Regions from separate parts of the Homo sapiens genome. Here regions 1, 2 and 3 are each linked to region 4. Evidence: promoter capture Hi-C in human tissues and cell types (Jung and others, 2019). All regions are on one chromosome and are shown on one strand. The core of a region is centred on a gene start or on the middle of the fragment in contact, and the rest is flanking DNA. Distances in the headings are between cores, read along the strand shown.

Evidence for each region. Contacts are between HindIII fragments. The study calls those that stand out against the background at their distance.
Region 1: a contact is called between a fragment that was not itself captured here and the fragment with the promoter of CLSPN in region 4, in 3 of the 25 tissues and cell types used here (dorsolateral prefrontal cortex, heart left ventricle and pancreas).
Region 2: a fragment that was not itself captured here is called in contact with the fragment with the promoter of CLSPN in region 4 in 2 of the 25 tissues and cell types used here (liver and neural progenitor cells).
Region 3: a contact is called between a fragment that was not itself captured here and the fragment with the promoter of CLSPN in region 4, in 2 of the 25 tissues and cell types used here (bladder and thymus).

The regions. Positions count from the first base shown.
Region 1 is chr1:35,530,705-35,536,019 of GRCh38, forward strand. All of the region lies in intron 2 of KIAA0319L (KIAA0319 like), which reads right to left. Among named protein-coding and RNA genes, the nearest start is that of KIAA0319L, 24 kb to the right of the region's middle. RefSeq lists enhancers at 192-693, 694-1,193. The HindIII fragment of the contact is 4,604 bases long and covers 1,256-5,315 here.
Region 2 is chr1:35,624,094-35,629,815 of GRCh38, forward strand. The region is part of intron 3 of PSMB2 (proteasome 20S subunit beta 2); the gene reads right to left. Among named protein-coding and RNA genes, the nearest start is that of PSMB2, 15 kb to the right of the region's middle. The HindIII fragment of the contact is 9,137 bases long and covers 1-5,722 here.
Region 3 is chr1:35,918,776-35,924,382 of GRCh38, forward strand. AGO1 (argonaute RISC component 1) reads left to right here. Exons shown (of 19, transcript NM_012199.5): 18 at 280-479; 19 at 724-5,607. The coding sequence ends at 832. Among named protein-coding and RNA genes, the nearest start is that of AGO3, 9.5 kb to the right of the region's middle. The HindIII fragment of the contact is 4,306 bases long and covers 1-3,835 here.
Region 4 is chr1:35,768,561-35,773,791 of GRCh38, forward strand. It overlaps CLSPN (claspin), which reads right to left and starts at 1,418. Exons shown (of 25, transcript NM_022111.4): 1 at 1,287-1,418. The coding sequence starts at 1,310. CLSPN-DT (CLSPN divergent transcript) reads left to right here and starts at 1,535. Exons shown (of 3, transcript NR_199050.1): 1 at 1,535-1,688; 2 at 4,238-4,450. RefSeq lists a silencer at 1,031-1,260. The HindIII fragment of the contact is 25,943 bases long and covers 1-5,231 here.

The DNA of each region.
Region 1 (5,315 bases), core at 2,308-4,807, 240 kb before region 4:
CCAATTTTTTGTATTGGCTTTCACAGGGAAAGATTTTTTCTTACAGATGTATCTACAGTGTTGGTTGGGTAGGGCACTTTGGCTTTGATTCTGGATGCATGCGGCAGTGTAGTCTCCATACGATTTCTTCGGCAACGAACACCATCCAGCAACGAACACCATCAGTGGCATCTGTGATTTTCTCAGTGGCTTAGGCTACAGTTGTTAGTGGGCAGCATACTTGATTGGCATGGCAACAGCAGCAGCAGTGCGCAGGGAAAGGCTGTCCTCAGGGTGCGTGAAAGTGTGCAGCAGCCCTACTTGTGGGAGACAAGAGGGAGGCAGGGCTGCTGTCTGTAATAGTCACCCCAGGCAGGTAGGTTTCAGGCTCTGGGGAGCATAAGCTTCAGCTTCTGGCAGCAGCAGTGGCTGTAGCAGCTGGCAAGGAGATCCTGTCCTCATGGCACATGAAAGTACATGGCAGCCTGCTGCTGAAGGGTATGGGGTTGCTGCTAGTGACAGTGGCCCCAGGCAGGCAGATTTCATACTCTGGGGAGCTTGCACTTTGGCACCCTTTGTCCTGGGAGCAGCCTCCCTGATACACTACACTGCCCTTTCCCTGGTATACAGGACATTGTGTGGACCCTGTGGTTCCTCTGGGCCCAACCAGTGTCTTGCTGCTAGAGCCCTCTAGGCAGATACGAGGGAATGTCAGGGGGGCTCCAGGGATGTAGAGAGGCAGGGGCTATTGGGCCCCAGGGCAGGATACAGTTTGGTGAGAGCTGGACTCTCAAAATGGTCCTGTGTCCCACTAGGGACCTGGGGGATGCGTGGGACTCAGTGTGCATTCCCTTTCTGGAGCAATGCCATCACACAGGCTCCAGGGATCTCCCTCTGCCAGTATCAGGGCCCACAAGGGTCAAAGCACTCTCTCGTGGCTAGGATTACAGGAGGTGGTGAGAACGTGGACTGTTGGGGATTGCTCACTTATTCTGTCTCCACGTTGGGAAGCCCCTCTGGCTCCCAGCCAATCTTGCCTGGGTTATCCACCTCGCTTCCCTCTCCCTCAGTGCCTCATGTGTTTTCTGTCACTTCTCTACTGAATTCTATACCTCTAGTCGGTCATCTTGAAAGACTCGGGCCCTTATATCTTCGACAATGACTACAAGTAAAAAATGTGAGGCCTAGGAAAAAGCTAGCTTCTATAAAAGAAATGTGAGGCCCAGGGGAGGTTAGCGGGCTATAGTGTTGCTAATAAAACTAATCTCAATGGTTTCCAATAAGAGGAAGAGGTAGGCCTGGCGCGGTTGCTCAGACCTATAATCCCAGCACTTTGGGAGGCCAAGGCAGGCGGATCACTTGAGGTCAGGAGTTCGAGACCAGCCTGGCCAACATGGTGAAACCCCAACTCTAAAAAAATACAAAAATTAGCCGGGCGTGGTGGTAGGCACCAAGTAGCTGAGGCAGGAGAATCATTGAACACAGGAGGCAGAGGTTGCAGTCATCAAGATTGTGCCACTACACTCCAGCCTGGGCGACAGAGTGAGACTCCGTCTCAAAAAAAAAAAAAAAGAGGAAGAGGTACTCTGATCTCTCAGTTCACATGTTTAATTCGTGGGATTTTGACTGAGTTTTTAAAAATTAAATGTTATTTAATGTTGTTACATCATGTGTTCAATAATAAAAATACGAAAAGAAAAAAACAGTTCTTTTTCATCCATTCCCTGAATCATAGTTCTTTGTCTTAGGTGGTTAAAAGACAGTTAACATCTTAAATGATTCTAGTTTCAGCTCTAGGTCCATCATTTACCAGATAGTTAACCTTTGAAGAATAATTTAACTTAAGATTAAATTTTCAGTGTTGATACTCTTGGGACAAAGAGTTCATAAAAGGAGGAAGCAGAAAGGCATTGGTAGAGTCAATATTGGATTCTAGAAGTAACTGGGATAAAAGGTAAGATGAAAATATACTCCAATTTTAGATCAGTTCCTCTCCCTGCCCACGCTGCCATACCCTGGCTCTGCTCCCAGGGCCCAGGCAAAAGCAATATTAAATCTTTACAAAAAATGGCTTACAGTTGGTAGAACCTTAGACTGAAAATCTTTTGGGAAAGTCTGGAATGCACTGTTGGTAGGAGCATGTAGAAAGCTTACCCAGGGTGAGAACAGTGGAGCAAAGCCAATTCCCCTCTTTCTAAAATCATAGCAAAGCAGAGAAAGCAGTGCTCCCATATGTATTACCTGGAGGATCCCCAAAACAGGAGGCTCTGGAACTAGCAATGCTTACTTACATCACCACCTCTCAAAAGACAGAATTCTAATATATCTGGCACAAAATCTAGACCAGGTTTCATAATTCCAAGTAGCAGAGTGGAAAAGTCTACAGGATATATGAATTATTGCCAGAAGGAAATTCATTAAATACTTTTAGAAAGCTGTGAACAACTCTGGAAATATTTAAAGACAGTGCTGTTGGCTCTGGCATTCTTAAATCTCAGGTAATAAGCTTGGCTTCTCAAGCAAACTTGAAAACTGCCCTGGTTAGCAACCAAGTAGGGAGCAGAGACAGAACGTCCCCTGTTTCAGGAGTCATACTGTTAGTGTCCAGAAATGTAAATTCTAACTAAATTCATCAGACTGTATCCCAAAGGAAAGGCTGTGATGGTGGAAATAAGAGTAGAGAGAATGAGCTACCAGTATTATTTCAAAAAAGAAAAAAAAAGCAGTTGATAAATTCTTCTCTTCGGTGGGGTTTTCGCTGCAGAAACAAATACATGGTTAGAGTATTCTGTAGAAAAAATTTGCAATTAATATTTACCGTCATTGAAGCTAAAATTCTTTTCTTGAAATCTCACAATTTTCTAATATGGTCAAGACTTCATTCAAAGCTTTCCCTTGATAATTATACCTATAAATGAACTATTATCAAGGAGAAAGGCACAGCCTTAAATTTGTCTCTTTATTCAGTAATTGAACTATGGCTCTACACCATCTGTCTTCCTACAGCTATCATCAAAAGTATGCATTCTCTCAGAAGCAATGGGTCTCAGCCAAGATGGCTGCCACATGAAAATGAGATAAGCAGGCACATTATCAATCCCAAAAACAACTCACAGGAACCGTTCAAAAACAAACCTCCTCAGGGGGCACCCTCCACCTCCCTTTTGACTGTCAGCATGTCTGTCACCTGCACACCCACTAATAAACAAATACAAAAAAAATGGTTCCACCTTACTCTCCACATCAGTTCTACCCTGCAGGGGTTAGCACATTCAGAAACAAGGCAGAGGAGGTAACTAAATCCTTTGAAGGACACAATCAGGTATTACGAAGTTTGAAAAAAGCCAAGGTAATAACCATTGCCCTCTCTCCTCCTTTTCAAAAGGGGTAACATTTTTTTCCTCAACTACACACAGGTTGGATTGAAAGGTGGCAGCTGCCTCACAAAGCAGTCCTTTGAAAATAATTACTACTCACTGCCTTTGCTATGTGCCTAGCTTTGCTAAGAGTACAGTTTTTTAAATGTATGGTGTAGATGATTTGCTGAAACTACACTAACTGCTACACAAGAATTAATAGGCTTTGTGTACATATTCTGACTTCTTTCCCTTCACCGTGGTATTTCCATTTTTCCTAAAGATCATTCTGAACAAAAACAAACTCCTCATGGAACTACTTGCCCAACAGATACATATCAGCTACTATTCACACTAACTCTTGATTATCTGCTAGATGGAAAACAAGCTTCCAAGGACTCAATCACAAAACCTGAATCTTGCAGTACTTTGCTGGTTAAGAATGCTTACAACAGCAAGTCCTTTCCTATAACACTGTCACTAAAAAGCCTCAAAGATACTGGATTGTGACAAACTGTTGAAAAGAATAACAATCGGTGGCCGGGCGCAGTGGCTCATGCCTGTAATCCCAGCACTTTGGAAGGCCGAGGCAGGTGGATCACGAGGTCAGGAAATCGAGAACTTCCTGGCTAACACAGTGAAACCCCATCTCTACTAAAAATACAAAAAATTAGCCGGGCGTGGTGGCAGGCACCTGTAATCCCAGCTACTCAGGAGGCTGAGGCAGGAGAATGGTGTGAACCTGGGAGGCAGAGCTTGCAGTGAGACGAGATCGGGCCACTACACTCCAGCCTGGGTGACAGAGCGAGACTCCGTCTCAAAAAAAAAAAAAAAAAAAAAAAAAGAAAGAAAAACAATCACAAGGTCAGGAGTTCGAGACCAGCCTGACCAACATGGCAGTCAAAAAATCAGCCAGCTGTGGTGGCGCATGCCTGTAATCCCAGCTACTTAGGAGGCTGAGACAGGAGAATCGCTTGAACCCAGGAGATGGAGGTTGCAGTGAGCCAAGATCACACCACTGCACTCTAGCCTGGAAGACACAGCAAGACTCCGTCTTAAAAAAAAAAAAAAAAAAAAAAAAAAAAGAATAACAGTACCCAGTACCAGAACATCTCCCTAGAAGAGGGCAATATTTATAGGCAGAAGAGTAGGGGAAAGTCCTTTTACTCTACCTACTTGAAACAGAATACTTATACTTCACAGGCTAAAGAAAATATGAAAACCACCCTCATTTAGTCTAGGTGAGAAAATAAATTCATTCCCCAAGGTAATGTTCATACATGTCCCTCATAACATTGAGTTGAAATTTGTTTTCAAACAAAATCCCCTATCAAGATCAACAGCCCTATTCCACAATTGCTCTCTTCTATCTTTTGGCCCCCACCCCAAAAATCTGTGGTTAAAGCTTTAGTTCCTAAAGCTGAGATTCCTGCATTTGAATCTCAACCCAGTCACTTCCTAACTGTGTCATCTTGGGTCAAATTCCTTAGTTTTTTCATGTGTAAAACAGGAATAATTTTAACAGTACCTACCCTACAGAGTTATTAAAGATATAAAGGAGAAAATATATGCAAAGTACTTAACATGAGCCTGGCATATAGTATTAAAAAGCTCAGTATATATTAGTTGCCATTATTTATGTTGTTGTTGTTATACTTCATTTTAGCTCGGCCACCACTTTTTCCAGGAAGGCTTCTCCCATGAAACCTTCACCCCAAGATGCCTCTCTTCTGTGCATCCTACATATACCTCTATCATAGCATTTCTCTCACCAGATCATATTTGTTTGTCTACCTCACACACTCTGCCCTCTTTAAGTGCTGGGGTTGTATATTGTATGTGTAGGCCCAGAAAGATGCTTAGCACATAGTAGACATTCAAGGAGCTTTCTTGTTAATTTTAAAAGTTCACCCAATATTTAAATAAATTTGTGGGATTTTTTCTATACTAACAAAATCAAGCAAAAGATGTCAGCTCCAA
Region 2 (5,722 bases), core at 2,756-5,255, 140 kb before region 4:
GGGATAAGCTTTGGTCACTGCTGGAAATGACTAAGACCTGAAATCCTTTCCTACATATTCTTTCCCATTCCCTAAAAAAATAAATAAATAAATAAAAATTCAAGTCTGGTTGTGGTCTTGACATAAGATTTTTAAATCATGCTATTTGGGGGCTGGAACAAACCCTAAAAACCATCCAATCAAATGCTTGCTTTCTCCCAAGGTTTTCAACTAACTCACAGCAGAGCTAGTATTAACCCTCCTATTGCAGGGCTCTTTGGTGGTAAGGGAACAGTGATGGCACCTTTTCAAATAAAACTTTACCTAGAATTCCTATCTATCAAATAGATAAAAGCTGAGTTGAGCTATATGAAGCAGAGCTAAAGTGCTGAACACTTGGCTGGGTGCAGTGGCTCATGCCTGTAATCCCAGTACTTTGGGAGGCTGAGGTGGGCAGATCACTTGAGGTCAGGAGTTGGAGACCAGCCTGGCCAACATGGTGAAACCCCGTCTCTATGAAAAATACAAAAATTAGCCAGGCATGGTGATGCATGCCTGTAATCCCAGCTACTCAGGAGGCTGATGCAGGAGAATTGCTCAAACCCAGGAGGCAGAGGTTGCAGTGAGCCGAGATTACACCACTGCATTCCAGACTGGGTGAGAGAGCAAGACTCTGTCTCAAAAAAAACAAAAACAAAAACAAAAAAACGCCAGGCACGGTGGCTCACGCCTGTAATCCCAGCACTTTGGGAGGCCGAGGCGGGTGGATCACGAGGTCAGGAGATCGAGACCATCCTGGCTAACACGATGAAACCCCGTCTCTACTAAAAATACACAAATTAGCCAGGCATGGTGGTGCACGCCTGTAGTCCCAGCTATTCGGGAGGCTGAGGAAGAAGAATCACTTGAAACTGGAAGGTGGAGGTTGCAGTGTGCTGAGATCATGCCACTGCACTCCAGCCTGGGTGACAGAGCGAAACTCCACCTCAAAAAAAAAAAAGCATTGCACACTGGTCTTCCTTGGTGAGTATCCTGAAGCAGCTTCACAGAATAAAGTTTGAAAACCACTACATCAGGCTGGATATCTTTTCAACTTATTATTTCTACTGTTTACTTGCTAAGCATTTACAAATAAATAGGTAAAAAGATAAATTACCAAAGGCTCATGAAACACTTCGGAAAAAGTTCTAATGAAAACTCTTTGGCCAGTGTGGCAGTGAAACCCGACGATTACACATCATGGAGGCCAGCATCCTACTCTAAGCCTTGCCACAAAATTTCACGTTCCCAAGGACACCAGATTTGCCTGGTTTATACCTGTCTCTCTATCTGTTAAATGGAGATAATTTTAGGGCATTCAGATGGGCTACATCAAATATGCCACATAATTCATTTTAAGTAAGAAATAGGCTGGGCATGGTGGCTCATGCCTGTAATCCTAGCACTTTGGGAGGCCAAGGCGGGTGGACCACGAGGTCAAGAGATCGAGACCATCCTGGTCAACATGGTGAAACCCCGTCTCTACTAAAAATACAAAAAAGTAGCCAGGCATGGTGACGGGCGCCTGTAGTCCCAGCTACTCAGGAGGCTGAGGCAGGAGAATGGCATGAACCCGGGAGGTGGAGCTTGCAGTGAGCCGAGATCGTGCCCCTGCACTCCAGCCTGGGTGACACAGTGAGACTCCGTCTCAAAAAAAAAAAAGAAAAGAAATAGCCCCATAACTCATCATCCTCTGACATTAGTCAAACTGTAAGGAGAATTTGAGAAAGGAAGCCTTTTTTTTAGACAGAGTCTTGCTCTGTCACCCAGGCTGGAGTGCAGTGGCATGATCTCAGCTCACTGCAACCTCCACCTTCTGGGTTCAAGCTATTCTCCTGCGTCAGCCTCCTGAGTAACTGGGATTACAGGTGTGTGCCACCACATCTGGCTAATTTTTTGTATTTTTAGTAGAGATGGGGTTTCACCATGTTGGCCAGGCTGGTCTTGAACTCCTGGGCTCAACTGATCTGTCCATCTTGGCCTCCCAAAGTGCTAGGATTACCGGCATGAGCCACTGTGCCTGGCCGAAGAAAGCAAGCCTTGAGCATAGTATAAGCCCTTTTTCTGCTCTTTGGGGTCTAACCAACAAGAAGAGACCATCTTAAATGTATACAAGCATTTAAATAAACAACTAAACTGAAGGCTTCTGAATTTTTTCCCCATCTGTCTTTTTTCGTCTTCTGATGATTTCATGCCTTTAATTCCTATACAAATTAACATCCATTTATTAAGAATACTTCTTCCGGTATTCCATTCATTAAGAATTCCCTTCCAGTGTATAAATGCATAATTAATATTCTCAGCAGAATATATAGACCTAGCTGGATGACACTTTTTCAGCAAACACTTATTGAAAACCTACAATGGACATATATTCAAACTTATCTATATAATACTATGTGCAATTTCGACATTTTAACAAAACTGAACATTTCATGTTTCCCTAAATGCACAAATACACTTGTACATTAGTCCACTAATTAATAAAGAAGACACCATGAAAGAGTTTGATATTTGAAGCTGGAATCTTAACCTTTAACATAGTATATATGTGCTTTGGAAACATATCTAAGAGAAATACTTAACATCCTTGTAAGTAAAATGGGGATAACACACATCTTATGGTGTCATAATAAGGATACTTAATAACAGATACATATGTAAGTATTTAGAATAGCACTGTCCAAGAGAACTTCTATGATGATGGATATGTTCCAGATCTGTGATGTCTAATACAATAGTTGTGGCTATTGGGTACCTGAAATGTGGCTGTGACTGAGGAACAGAATTTTTTTTTTTAAGAACAAAAGTTGATTTAGCATTCAGGCAAAGTCTACCAGGAGATTTTCCACCAGAAACTGAATTTTAAGTTTTATTTAATTTTAATTAACTTAAATTTAAATAGCCCCATGTGGCTAGTTGGCTACCATACTGGACTGTGTAGATCTAGAAAAATCCTAGCACATAATATATGTTCAATGTTATTTTACTTCTATTTTCCCTATCAATACCAGCATGGTGGCTTGGCGCCTGTAGTTCCAGCTATTTGGGAGGCTGAAGTGGGAGTATTGTTTGAGCCCGGGAGGTTGAGGCTGCAGTGAGCTGTGACTGTGCCACCTCTTAGGTGACAGAGCGAGACCCTATCTCAAAAAAAAAAAAAAAAAAAAAAAAGCACAACAAATGATCCCTCACGAAAAACTAACTTATAGCCATTAAATTGCTTCTTTGACCAAACAGCAATCGCAGCATAAAAACACAAGTGGGCTGGGCATGGTGGCTCATGCCTGTAATCCTAGCACTTTGGGAAGCAGAAGCGGGAGGATTGCTTGAGCCCAGGAGTTCGGGACCAGCCTGGCAACATGGAGAAACCCCATCTCTACAAAAAATTAGCCAGGCATAGTGGTATGCACCTACAGTCCCAGCTGCCAGGGAGGCTGAGGTGGAAGGATCATCTGGGCCTGAAAGGTCAAGGGGCTGCAGAGAGCTGTGGTCATACCACTGCACTCCAGCCTAGATGACAGAGTGAGATCCTGTCTCAAAAAAAAAGTAAGAGCTTTGCATTATTACCTTATTTAATCTTCATAATAACTTTTTGAAATTGGTAAGTAGGGAAATTAAGCTTAGAATTTGTCCAAAGACATCCAGCTAGTAAGTCAGTAAGCAAATATTCAAACCCAGGTAGTCCAATTCCAGAGACTATGCTCTTAACCACAATGCTAAATTGCCTACATTTTAATGAACCAGTTTATGTAAGATTCATTATATACTCAGTGGTAGTAAATGTCCTCCCAACCAAACCACCACACATACACAGAGCAAATTAGAAATCAAACAATTTGAGCTACAGACACAGAAGTTATACATGGTAACTGGCTGACCCAAAATGAGTCACATCTGCCAACTGGTGTGACCATATAAATATACTAAATTTGGTGACTTTGCACTTATTAGGAACACTGACAAACTATCATCTCTCTTCCCAGAATAAGACGACTAAAATATAAATTCATATTTTAGAACTAAGAATCTATTTTGATAAGGAGATGGGGGAGCAGAGATTGGACCTACTGGAAAAGCTCAGGCAGAGGTAGTCAATATTTACCAGAGCCCCATGTCACTGTCTACAAGGGATATTTGTTAAGACATCAAACATTTCTGCTAGGAGAAGATTAAACCAGATTCACTGCATTTGCATGAAGCACACTGCCATTCTTATCTCAATTCCAAAAAGGAGCTTAATTCACTTAATGTCTGTGATATTTATGACACAGTATTTATTGTGCCCAAAGCTGGAATTCTTACTCCGGTTCTGCCTGATAAGTCAGAGGAACATCGTACATGGCAAGTCATAAAATGCTGAACACCACAGGAACTTCTGGGTGACAGAAAAACTAATATCTGACCCATTTTCCTTTCTCAAGGAGGAGTGAAGAAAAGACCACTTGGTGACAATGACTTTCTTGGAAGAAAAAAAAAAAAAAAAAAATATATATATATATATATATATATATATATATATATTTTTTTTTTTTTTTTTAAAGAAAAGACTACTGATCTTTCACCCAGGACAAAACAATGTATGTAAATTTGCCTCCTCCTCTCAATCCTACATGTCTCTAGCTTCTCTTCAAACTTCATGATCCCTCAGATTGTACAAGCCCTTGGTCAAAGCTAGCACTGAGAGGTACTATTTATTGAGAAATTATCAGTCAAAGATTATTAGGCACTAGAAAATAAACTGCTTTATAGATCTGTAGTAAGTAACTTTAAAAAAAGTAACTTGTTATTTTAAGCAAGTACAGATGAAAACTCAAACCATAATAAAAATATGAATAGCATCAGTGTTCTAGAAACACTACTGAAGAACCAAAGGCAGAATAGTCAAATAATTATGGCACCATTATTTTAGCTTTGTCTGACCTGCTGTGTGACCTGGAGCTAGTCCCTTTGACACTTTATGCCTTTCACTTCATCTCAGTGATAGAGACTATCTTTCTCAGTGGAATAGTGAGTAGATTAAATTATTAAGCAAAATGCTTTGGGCAAAAGTCACATGAATGTTAAATATTATGATTTACAAGCATTCATTTTCCTGGCACCCCTGTGGGGTTAGGAAGTTATCTCCATTTCATAGATAAGTAAACAGGCACAGGGGGTGAGATCACGTGGTAAGGCTCTATTTATTTAGTCCCTGTGGGAAGGGAATAACACACACCTTTAGCAACCATATGAACTTTCCTAGCACATCCTACACAATCTTTAATGCATTCAATCCTTAACTTAGTGTTGCATCTTTTAACATGCTGTCGATGAAATGGAGACAGCTCTAGAATAGCAACAAGGCTAGAATAAGTAAGGAGGAACAATGCTGTATGCTTTGGGAAAAAGTCATAGAAAAACACAGGTAAGTACGCCAGGTACAGTGAGTGGCTCATTCCTATAATCCCAGCACCCTGAAAGGCCAAGGCCAGCAGATTGCTTGAGTCCAGGAGTTCAAGACCAGCCTGGGCCACATGGTGAAATCCTGCCTCCACTAAAAATACAAAAAATTAGCCAGATGTGGTGGTGCACACCTGTAGTCCCAGCTACTTGGGAGGCTGAGGTGGGAGAATCACCTGAACCCGGGAAGTTGAGGCTTCAGTAAGCTGAGATCACACCACTACACTCCAGCCTGGGCAACTGGAGTGAGACCCCGTCTCAAAAA
Region 3 (5,607 bases), core at 433-2,932, 150 kb after region 4:
GAACTCCTGACCTCAAGTGATCCACCCACCTTGGCCTCCCAAAGTGCTGGGATTACAGGCATGAGCCACTGTGCCCGGCCAGGACTGCTGTCGTAATAAGCCCTGAGTACACTTGCAGGTTGCTTATAAGAAGAGTGCTTTATGACATTGGTAGTTTTGCATCTGCCTGTTCATGGGTGAATTATCTACCCAGCCATATTCTTAACAGTGATCCTGTTCCCCTATTATCAGCCATCTTCTCTGCCCAGCCTGGGACCCCTCACCTTCCTATCTTCCCAGGGCACCAGCCGACCATCCCATTACTATGTTCTTTGGGATGACAACCGTTTCACAGCAGATGAGCTCCAGATCCTGACGTACCAGCTGTGCCACACTTACGTACGATGCACACGCTCTGTCTCTATCCCAGCACCTGCCTACTATGCCCGCCTGGTGGCTTTCCGGGCACGATACCACCTGGTGGACAAGGAGCATGACAGGTGAGGCCTGGGATCAGGTTGGCCTCCTTTTTGCTTCAGCCTATTGTGCCAGATCTTCTTAACTTTCCTTGGGTAGAAGGAAATGAGTGCTGTCCAATTTGGTGTCATTGGGCTCGTCTGCCCAATCCTGGGTTGGGTTTCTCTCTTAAGTTGGTATGGGAATTGGCATCCCAGGGCTGGGCGAGGGAATTAGCAGCAGCTCTCAGTTCACCAGGAAGGACTTCTTTCATTTTTTCCTTTTCAGTGGAGAGGGGAGCCACATATCGGGGCAGAGCAATGGGCGGGACCCCCAGGCCCTGGCCAAAGCCGTGCAGGTTCACCAGGATACTCTGCGCACCATGTACTTCGCTTGAAGGCAGAACGCTGTTACCTCACTGGATAGAAGAAAGCTTTCCAAGCCCCAGGAGCTGTGCCACCCAAATCCAGAGGAAGCAAGGAGGAGGGAGGTGGGGTAGGGAGGAGTGTAGGATGCCTTGTTTCCTTCTATAGAGGTGGTGTAAGAGTGGGGAACAGGGCCAGCAAGACAGACCACCAGCCAGAAATCTCTGATATCAACCTCATGTCCCCCACCCCTCACCCCATCTTGTCACATCTGGCCCTGACCCCACTGGACCAAAAGGGGCAGCACTGGTGCCCACCATACACACAGGTGTCTCATGTGACTCACAGTGCTAAAGACTCATGCTTGACAGCTTGGTAAGGTCAACTCTGTAGCCCTGCAGACAAAAGCTGGTTAGGTTTGGGTTTGATACTTTAGATGGGAAAGTGAGGGGCTTGAGAAAGTGGGTGGGAGGAGGGAAGGATTTTTTAGGAGCCTTAATCAGAAAAGGACTAGATTTGTTTAAGAAGAAAAATGAAACCAGACCCAGATCAATATTTTAGGATACTAGATGTTTTAATGGGTTCAGAATCCAGTTTGTAGGAAGATTTTTTAATGGTTTTGGTTGCTCCTCCCCCAGCTGCCACCCCCCACCTTACCCTTATTCCTCTCTGTCCACATTTTCTGCCCCACCTTACTTCTCCTCCCTGACAGACATCCAGCCCCTAGTAATACTTAAGGCACTATGGCACTTAGCTTTGAAGTGACACGACCCTGTCTTCCTTCCGCCCGCTGGTGGGTAACCAGTGCCTTCCCTGTAACGGTAATGCTGCAGAACTGCAACCTTTTGTACCTTTCTTTGGGGAATGGGGTGGGGGTGGGAGAGGAGGTAGATGGGGAAGAAATACCCCAGACCCAACAAACCTCCAGCCAGAAAGCCAGCTATTTTGCATTTGAAGGAATTGACTTCCTCATTCATTGAGCTTTTTAAAAGATCACAACCTCAAGATGGTTAAAATCCATTGACATTTGCACTTTCAAACATGACAAGTCTCGGAGCTGCTGAGATGACAGGCCCCTGGCCTTTCCACTTATGCCTCCTTTTCTCCTTATTCCTCCTACCTCCCGCCCCGCCCAGGTCTGGAGTTACTTTCATAGCATTTTTCACTCTTGGCTTCTTTTCTCCCTTGATGGTCAAGTCTCTTATGTTTCAATATTTCTTAACTGGGGTGTCTTATAACAAAAAACTCTTAGGTCTAAAATGAGAAAAAAGAGAGAAAACAAAATGTTATTTTTATACCATAACTTGAGTGTATTGCCAAAATTTGGAAATCCTTCCCATGCCTGATGAGTTTATATCCCAGAAACATTGAGCCATCAGAATGAACTGTGTACCTGATTTGTTCTCTGACCTGGCTAGGTAGGGAGGGGGTGGTTATCGCCCCAAGATGGGGTCCAGGCTCCATCCTTCCTCTGTGCAGATAATACCTTTTTCTTGCTATAGCCTCCCTCCTCTGCACTGTCCTGCACTCTTTCTTGCAAGTGCATCTTTTTCCTTCCCCTGGACTGTCCTCTGACCCTTTGGCTCATCCTAGATTGCAGTGTGTCCTGTGGACAGGCTGGGGAATTTTGCTGCTCCCTATTGCTTCTGTTTACAAAAATGAATTTTTCCTGGTTTCCCACTAGGGCATGTGGGTGGGTGGCATGGACTTTTTTTTTTTTTTTTTTTTGTCTTGAGACATGGGGTTTGGCTGTCTTGCAGGACTGGAGAAGGTGGTGGTTCTAGCTTGGTCTCTGTTGGCCTTGAAGCAAGCATCCCCCCTGCCCTTTTTCCTTGACTGTTCATTTTTTTCCTGCCCCACTGCTTGGGATGGGGAGTTGCAACTTCAGTGTGGAATTTCCTCTTTGAGGAGCCTGGGCTTGGATCTATCCTGATCTGGTGATGAAGCCATGATTACTTTAGACCTAGCCCAGGCTTGGAGGCCAGCTGGAGGAAGAAGGGTCTAAATCCTGGCCTGTAGAGTTAGAACTACCATTTCCTCCCCTTAGCTGCCCTTGTATGACCCGGATTTGCTATGCAAAACAATCTATCCCAGGTTCTGTTCTGGTTGGCTACATTGTTCAGCAACTCACAAAACGTAGCACAAACATTCATTATGGAGAAAGCATCAGGACTGTTGAGTAACTCCTCCTTTACTTTTTTCCTGCTGGCTACAGCATGGGGTGCCCTATAGGCACAAGCCCAGCTGAAGAACAGAATGGAGGGCTCTGGGAGGAGGCAGCTCACTGGAGAGCCTACATTCCTTACACAAGTGCCTAAAGAGAGTGATGCTAACACTCCATCTGCCCTGTCCATTGCCTTCATATACAGTCTACTTCGTGTTCTGTCACCCTTTGGGGAGGGGAGTTCTCCTGGGACAGTGGGCTCTGCATGTTCTCCACTTGGATACATTTTGGGGCTAGGATCAGGGCACTATTCCTGGAGGGTCCAGTCATTCACCAGCATTTGCAAATGTCCATAGGGAGCAGGTGGCAGCCTCTACTCCCAGCAACAAGTTTGTGTTCTCTCCTTTTCTCTCTTTGCCTCACTCTCTCCAGTTGGTTTTCAGCTGGGGCTTGAAATGCATTTTTAGCCCTTTGACGTGGCTTATGCCATTCAAGAAATAAAAAGCAAGAGAATCAGCTTTGGGCAATGACAAGAAATGAGTTCTTACTCTGATTTTTTTGTAAAAAGATAATTTTTGAGACTTGAAAAATACCCCGACCTTGAGATTATTCCTGTTTGAAAGGTGGTGCATGCAGATGGAGAAGTGGTGTTGGCAGCAAGCTTTGGCTCATGTGGATTTGGTTTAAGTGGTGCTTCTTACCCAAGCTTCAAGGAAGTGCTTGGGGGACCCCCAGCCTCATCCTCTTAGTTGGGTCTCTTGTTCCCTTTGTACCACTGTTTTGCCTTCCTTTTCCTCTTCTCTCTTTGCCTGGCTTCCTTTCCCTTTTCTTCTATTCACTCTGCTTGCTTGCTGGCCGGCCTGCCTGCCTGCCTGCCTGCCTGCCTGCCTGTCTGCCTATGTGATGATGAAATCTCTGCATGGCTGCAATGATCCCACTGTTAGCTGGCAGGGTCAGGCTTAGCTCCTTGACTGCAGAAGACCAAGAACCTGTTCCCCAAGCCCAGAGATGTCCACCTGGGCTGGACTGCCCTCAAGCTTATACTAGAGAAGAGCAACTGACCTGCCCAACTTGTGTGAAGTCAGGAGGGTTTCTGGCATTTTCCACACCTGTCCACTCCTTGGAGCTGGTTTCTCTCATTGCTTTTTCTAAATCTGGTTCTTTTTCTCTTTACCTGGGGCCTGGCTTTTCTGAGATTGTCTTAGGGTTGAGCTATTTGGGTATCCTGGGTTTGAGTGTTAGGGGATGGACATAAAGGAAAAAGAGTGATGAGAAGAGAATGGAGAGAATTTGAATAAAAGGTGGGAAAGGAGAGCACTGTTCTTTGATTGTTTATCCAGTCCAACCTGATCCATTAGGGATCGAGGTGCTACACTGGCCTCCAGGGATAAGCCTGGGGCTACTGTTGCTGGGAACTTAGGCTTAACATAAAGCCGAAGAAGGTACCTAGAAATTTGAAACTTCCCTAAAAAGCTCCTAATGCCCACCTGCTAGATAGCTTCTCTGTGGCCTCCTATTTAGCTAAGCAGCAGTGTTTTTGGATACTTTTTTTTTCTGTTTGTGAATAAGGCCAGCACTCAAGATGGGCAGCCAAGGGTGCACTGACTATTAGCTGGCCCATAGGATATCTGTAAGGCTGGTGGGACAGTTTTGGACCTGGAATCATGTGTAACTAACAAGGTTGGACGTTTCTTCCCCATCAGGGTAGAAAAATCATCTCAAACTAGCCAAAAGGCAGTTTTGGAAACTACATTGGGGGACGTTATTTTTATTTATATATGGGGCCTAGGCCAATCCAGGATGGTAGCTGGAATACCTTCCTTCTTAAAATCTGATCATGGCAGGGATATGCAGGGCACTTTTTACTATTTGGCCTTCTAAGCAGATTGGGAAGGAGGTATTTTCTGGTTTTCGCTTTCCTCCGACTTAATAGGACTTGCCTTCTCCCTGGGCAGGGAGAGAGGCTGGGTTGGTGCTCTCCCTTACTCTACTCATACTGACTTAGAGCCTCTGGCTGCTGTTTGGGCATCCAAGAAAGGGAGGGGAAGGAATGAGCTAAAAACAAAACAGAATGAGGTGGGAAAGGGAGATTTTCTTCTTTACAGAGGAAAATAGGAAACCCTCCAAGAATTGTGCAAGTAAAGACATTTGTTGAATGCACTGAGTCCCTTGGTGTAGTAGCAATAAGGAAAAATGAAATTACTTTCCTGTGCACACAGTCCAGCCTAATTGGTATGTGATGTTGCACTTAGCAGCCATGTGGTGGGCATGTGTGACTACTCTGGTTTTCACTTTAGTTTCTAAACTTTTTATCCCTCTCAAGTCCAGCATGGATGGGGAAATGTCTCTGGATCCCCACAGCTGTGTACTTGTTTGCATTTGTTTCCCTTTGAGATTTGTGTTTGTGTCCTGCTTTGAGCTGTACCTTGTCCAGTCCATTGTGAAATTATCCCAGCAGCTGTAATGTACAGTTCCTTCTGAAGCAAGCAACATCAGCAGCAGCAGCAGCAGCAGCACAATTCTGTGTTTTATAAAGACAACAGTGGCTTCTATTTCTAAAGTGCGGTCTTTCTCTTTTTTTTTCCTACCAGCAAAACAAACTTTTGGGACTGATTACATCTCTAATAGATTTTAGGTGAGAAT
Region 4 (5,231 bases), core at 168-2,667:
ACAGGCGACGCCCGGCTAATTTTTTTTTTTTTGTAGAGGCGGGGTTTTGCCATGTTTTCTATGCAGGCTGGTTTCGAACTCTTGAGCTCAAGCAATCTGCCGGCCTTAGCCTCCCGAAGTGCTGGGATTGCTGAGAATTAATATGTATGCACTGATGATCCTCTCAACAATCCAAAGCAGTAAAACTATTACTTCTGTTTGTGAGTGTGGAAACCGAATTTAGGTAACCAGACAGCTCAAGGAATAGGGCTGCTTTGAATGACGATTATCTTCTAGGCAATTTGCAGCAACGTCAAAGGGCAGGGCCAGTAACAGGGTGGGGTGAGGTCTCAAAAAATTCAGTAATCAAAATGAATAACATTAATGCAATATTTTTTAAAAAATTAAATCAATAATCTACAGCTCATGAGGTAAATAATATGCCCGCTTTTGTAAATAAAGTTTATTGGAAACAGGGATGGAATTAGGGTGAGGTGATTGAGGCAAGGTCGTGCAAATGACTGGTCGGATCTCGTCTTTGTTTAAACGTCTGATATTTTGTTCAATATCAAATCATAAAAAGTTTTTGCATTAATTTTGGTTTTTTAAAAATATTGCATTAAAATATGAGTTTGATTGAGGGTTTTGGCGCCCCTTTAAATTTTGCTCCTAAGGCGGGAGTGCCTTGCCCGAATCCGGCCCAGAAAGGACACAGCTCTGGAAACATCTGTTTTCTATGCCCAATTTCGCCAGGGAGCTGCCAGCCACCAGCCAGGAGCCCCAGCGGTGACTTCCCCACTCGGGGCCCGGTCGGAAAACGCAAAGGGCCTGCGCGCGATGACCTCCAGGGCCCCTCCCAGGCCCAGTGTGGAACTCCCTAACACCCTCGCTCGCCCTCTCTCTGCGGAGAATCCCCCCGCACCGCTGCGGCCGGGTTCGGCTAGAGCCTCCCGGCTTTCAGAGCACCCTGAGGGGAGGAGCTTCCGCGACAGGAAACGCGCCAAAGGGGAGGGCTGGCGGCAGGAACCGGCTGAAGAGGGGCTGGGCTGCCGGCAGTGCGCGCCGCAGAGACCTGGAGCTCTCCGGCCACGGAGCCCGAAGCGCGGGAAGCCCGGCGGCGGGACGGGATGCCCGGTCGGAACCCATCCCGGCCGAGTCTCGAGGCCGCGGGAGCCGGCGCGGCGAACGCCGGGAGCCGCAGTCCTCCCGCCCGGGCGCCTCGGGTCAGCGGGGTCTACCCCGGCCCCACCTAACCTCTCGGTGCCCGGCCTTCTAAGCCCCCGTGGGGGGCGTGTGCATAAACTCACCTCAGAACCCACCTCGCCTGTCATGACTTCTGCCTCCCCTGCGCTCCACTAGGGACGGAGCTGTCTCTGATTCCCTCAGCCGGAGAGCAGCGGCTCCCGCCGTCTCCAGCCCAGCAGTGCTGTTCTTGCTTTCCCGCCCAGCCAGAGTGGAGGTCCCACCCAGATGGTTTGCACCAATCCAGAGGGGGCTTTCCAGCGAGTCCCCGCCCCCTTCCGACCCACCAATCACGCAGCGCCTCTGGCCGCCCAATCTCCTATTACCCAGGCTGAGTTGGCGGGTCGCAGCTGCTGGTAGCGGAGCCTGGGGGAGCTGGAGGTGCACGGGGGCGGGGCAGTCGGTACCAGGCGAGCCGTGGTCTTTGACCTTTGACACTTGCCAAAGCATCGAGTGCGATTGGAGGGGTGAGTCTTTCGGGGGGAAGTGAGCTGGGAAACGGTTCCTGGGCACCTGGGAGTGTCCTGTACCTGAACTTTTTAGAGGAATTCCAAGGTTCCCGTGGGGATTTTCTCCACTGACTTCATTTCTGGAGCAGCTAGATCCTGTGTGCCTCTTGTACATGACACTTACCACTGAATATATATATATATATATATATATATATATATATATATATATACACACACACACACATATGTACACACATATATACATACACATATATACACATACACATGTATGTGTATACACACACACTTTTTTTTTTTTTGAGATGGAGTCTCCCTCTGTTAGCCAGGATGAAATGCAGTGGCGCGATCTCGGCTCACTGCAACCTCCGCCTCCCGGGTTCAAGCGATTCTCGTGCCTCAGCCTCCTGAGTAGCTAGGATTACAGGCACCCGCCACCAACCCCTGGCTAATTTTTGTATTTTTAGTAGAGACGGGGTTTCACCATGTTGGCCAGGCTGGTCTCGAACTCCTGATCTCAAATGATCCTCGCCTCGGCCTCCCAAAGTGCTGGGAGGCCTCATACCCCTCACAGGCGTGAGCCACTGTGCCCGGCCCACTTTTATTTTTTAAAGAGGGCCGGGCTCCATGGCTCACGCTTGTAATCTCAACGCTTTGGGAGGCCGAGGTGGGAGGATGGCTTGAGTCCAGGAGTTTGAGGTTAGAGTGAGTTATGATCGCACCACTGCACTTCAGCGTAGGCGATAGAGGGAGACCTTGTCTCTAAAGAAAAAAGTTTTGTGGGCTGCTCAGATACCAAAGAATATGGTTGGATAATCTTTATAATTCTCTGTAGAGTTAATTTGAGGATGTAGAAAGCACTCATCACTCCTAGAGGGCATTCTACCTTTAAACAAGGCTGGAAAAAGAATTGAAGCTCTGAAATCAGGTTTATCCCAGACACAGTTCTTTTTTTTTTTTTTTTTTTTTTGTTGAGACAGAGTCTCTCCCTGTCACCATGGCTGGGTGCAATGGCGTGATCTCGGCTCACTGCAACCTCCGCCTCCCGGGTTCAAGCGATTCTCCTGCCTCAGCCTCCTGAGTAGCTAGGATTATAGGCATGTGCCACCACGCTCAGATAATTTTTTGTAACTTTAGTAGAGACAAGATTTCACCATTTTGGCCAGGCTGATCTTGAACTCCTGACCTCGTGATCCGCCCGTCTCAGCCTCCCAAAGTGCTGGGATTACAGGTGTGAGTCACCGCACCTGGCCTATCCCAGACAATTCTAATCCCAGTTTTGCCACTGTGCTGGCCATTATTTTTTGCCTCTCCAGGTCAATTCTCTGTCCTTCCTTTACCCTGGTGTGTGTCAAGGCAAGGCTGACCTCTCTAGACTGTATTATCCCAGCTCCCTTGCCCTTCTGGTTGGGTCAGGCCCCTGTAAAGACACCTTATAAGGTTACTGTAAGGAGATGAGAGGCCACCAGGAAAGAAAGGTCAGAGTATTTATTGCTCACTTCACCCTCCATGGTCATATCCACTGCCAGTGTGGCCAGCTTGGCCCAGCTTGCCCAGGACTTTCCTAGTTTTAGCACTAAAAGTCCTGCATCCTGAGAACCTCCTCAGTCACAGGTATACCAAATGGTTGGTTCTTCACCCAATCCACTGGCCTCCTCTTCCAAGTTTCCACCTTTAGCTGGGTTCAGAAAAAAGCTCCCTCTCCACATCTTCATTTCTTTACTTCCCCACCATCTCTCAATCCACTTCTGTCCCCACCAACAAGAGCCCATCATCCATCCTCTTCTCTTTTTGTGTCTTGGTTTATCCACCTTTTCATCCATTTACTATTAATTTCTACATCAACGATTCCCAGGTATACATCTATGGCACTCCCCATCATATATGGAGGGCTAACGTTTATTGAAGCCTTACTCAGTGGCAGAAACAGTTGCAAGGATTTTATAAGTGTTATCTTATTTAATCTTCAGAGTAAACTTGTAATATTATTATCTCTTTCTTAGAAGATGAGGAAACCAGACTTTTAAAAGGCTAGAAACTGGTGGAGCCAATTTTCAGACTCTATGTGACTTCAGAGCTCATACCCCTCAGAAAGACCCTGCCTGAGCATCCTCTGTGTTCTGCCTCCTTATCCTATGCTGGTTTCCCTGATAACACTTTCCTTTGCCTGAAATTTTATTTATATCTATTTGTCTGTTGTTGCTCCAAGAGAACAGGCGTTTTGTTTTCTTGGCCTCTGTATCATTGCAACCTAGAATTGTCTTTCTTAAACTTGAGCATGCATCAGAATAATCTGAAAGGCTGGTAAAAACAGCTATTGTTGGGTCCTAGTGCCAAAGTTTCTGATTCAGTATGTCTGAAGTGGGGTCCAGAGATGTATACTTCTTTCTTTCCTTTTTTTCTTTTTCTCCCTGAGTGCAGTGGCATGATCACAGCTCACTGCAGCCTCAACCTCCCAGGCTCAAGCAACCCTTCCACCTCAGCCTCCCAAGTGGCTGGGACTACAGGTGTGCACCACCATGCCCAGCTAATTTTTTATTTTGTAGAGACGGGGTGTCACCATGTTGCCCAAGCTGGTCTCAAACTCCTGGACTCAAGCAACCTGCACATCTCGGCCTCGCAAAGTGCTGGGATTACGGGCATGAACCACCGTGCCCCACAGGAATGTATATTACTAACAAATTCCCTGGTGATGCTAGTGTTGCTGATCTGGAGACCACACTTTGAGAACAAAGGACTTAGAACATCCCAGGTTCAAGGTAGGAAAACTGATAAATATTTGTTGAACTAATTAATTCATTCACTTGACAACTTCTTGAGCTCCCTCTGAAAATGAATGAGTGAAATAATATTCCTTATATTAGTATTTTAAAATATCTTTGGGGAGCACCTTTTCACTCATCACAGAAGCTAAGAGAGAAAGCTCCAATTTGAACAATGGGTGGACATGGGTAAGCTAGGAAAGGAAAACCTTTCATTCAATTTTTATTGTGGTAAAACATATATAACATGAAATTTACCATCTTAACCATTTTAAAGTATGCAGTTCAGAAGTACATTCAAATTGTTATGTAACCAATCTACCAATCTTCAGAATTCTTTTCTTTTTCTCTTCTTTTTTTTTTTTGAAATGGAGTTTTGCTCTTGTTGCCTAGGCTGGAATGCAATGGTGCTATCTTGGCTCACTGCAACCTCTGCCTCCCGGGTTCAAGCAATTCTCCTGCCTCAGCCTCCCAAGTAGCTGGGATTACAGGCACCTGCCACCACGCCTGGCTACTTTTTTGTATGTATTCTTAGGAGAGACGGGGTTTCACCATGTTGGCCAGGCTAGTCTTGAACTCCTGACCTCAAGTGACCCATGCACCTCGGCCTCCCAAAGCGCTGGGATTACAGGTGTGACCCAACGGGCCTGGCCTAGAACTCCTTTCATCTTGCAAAACTGAAACTCTATGCCCATTAAGCAACAACTTCATACTCCTCCCATCCCCAGGAAACTTTTATTTTACACATTAACTTGTGCCAAGATAAAGTGAGTCTGTA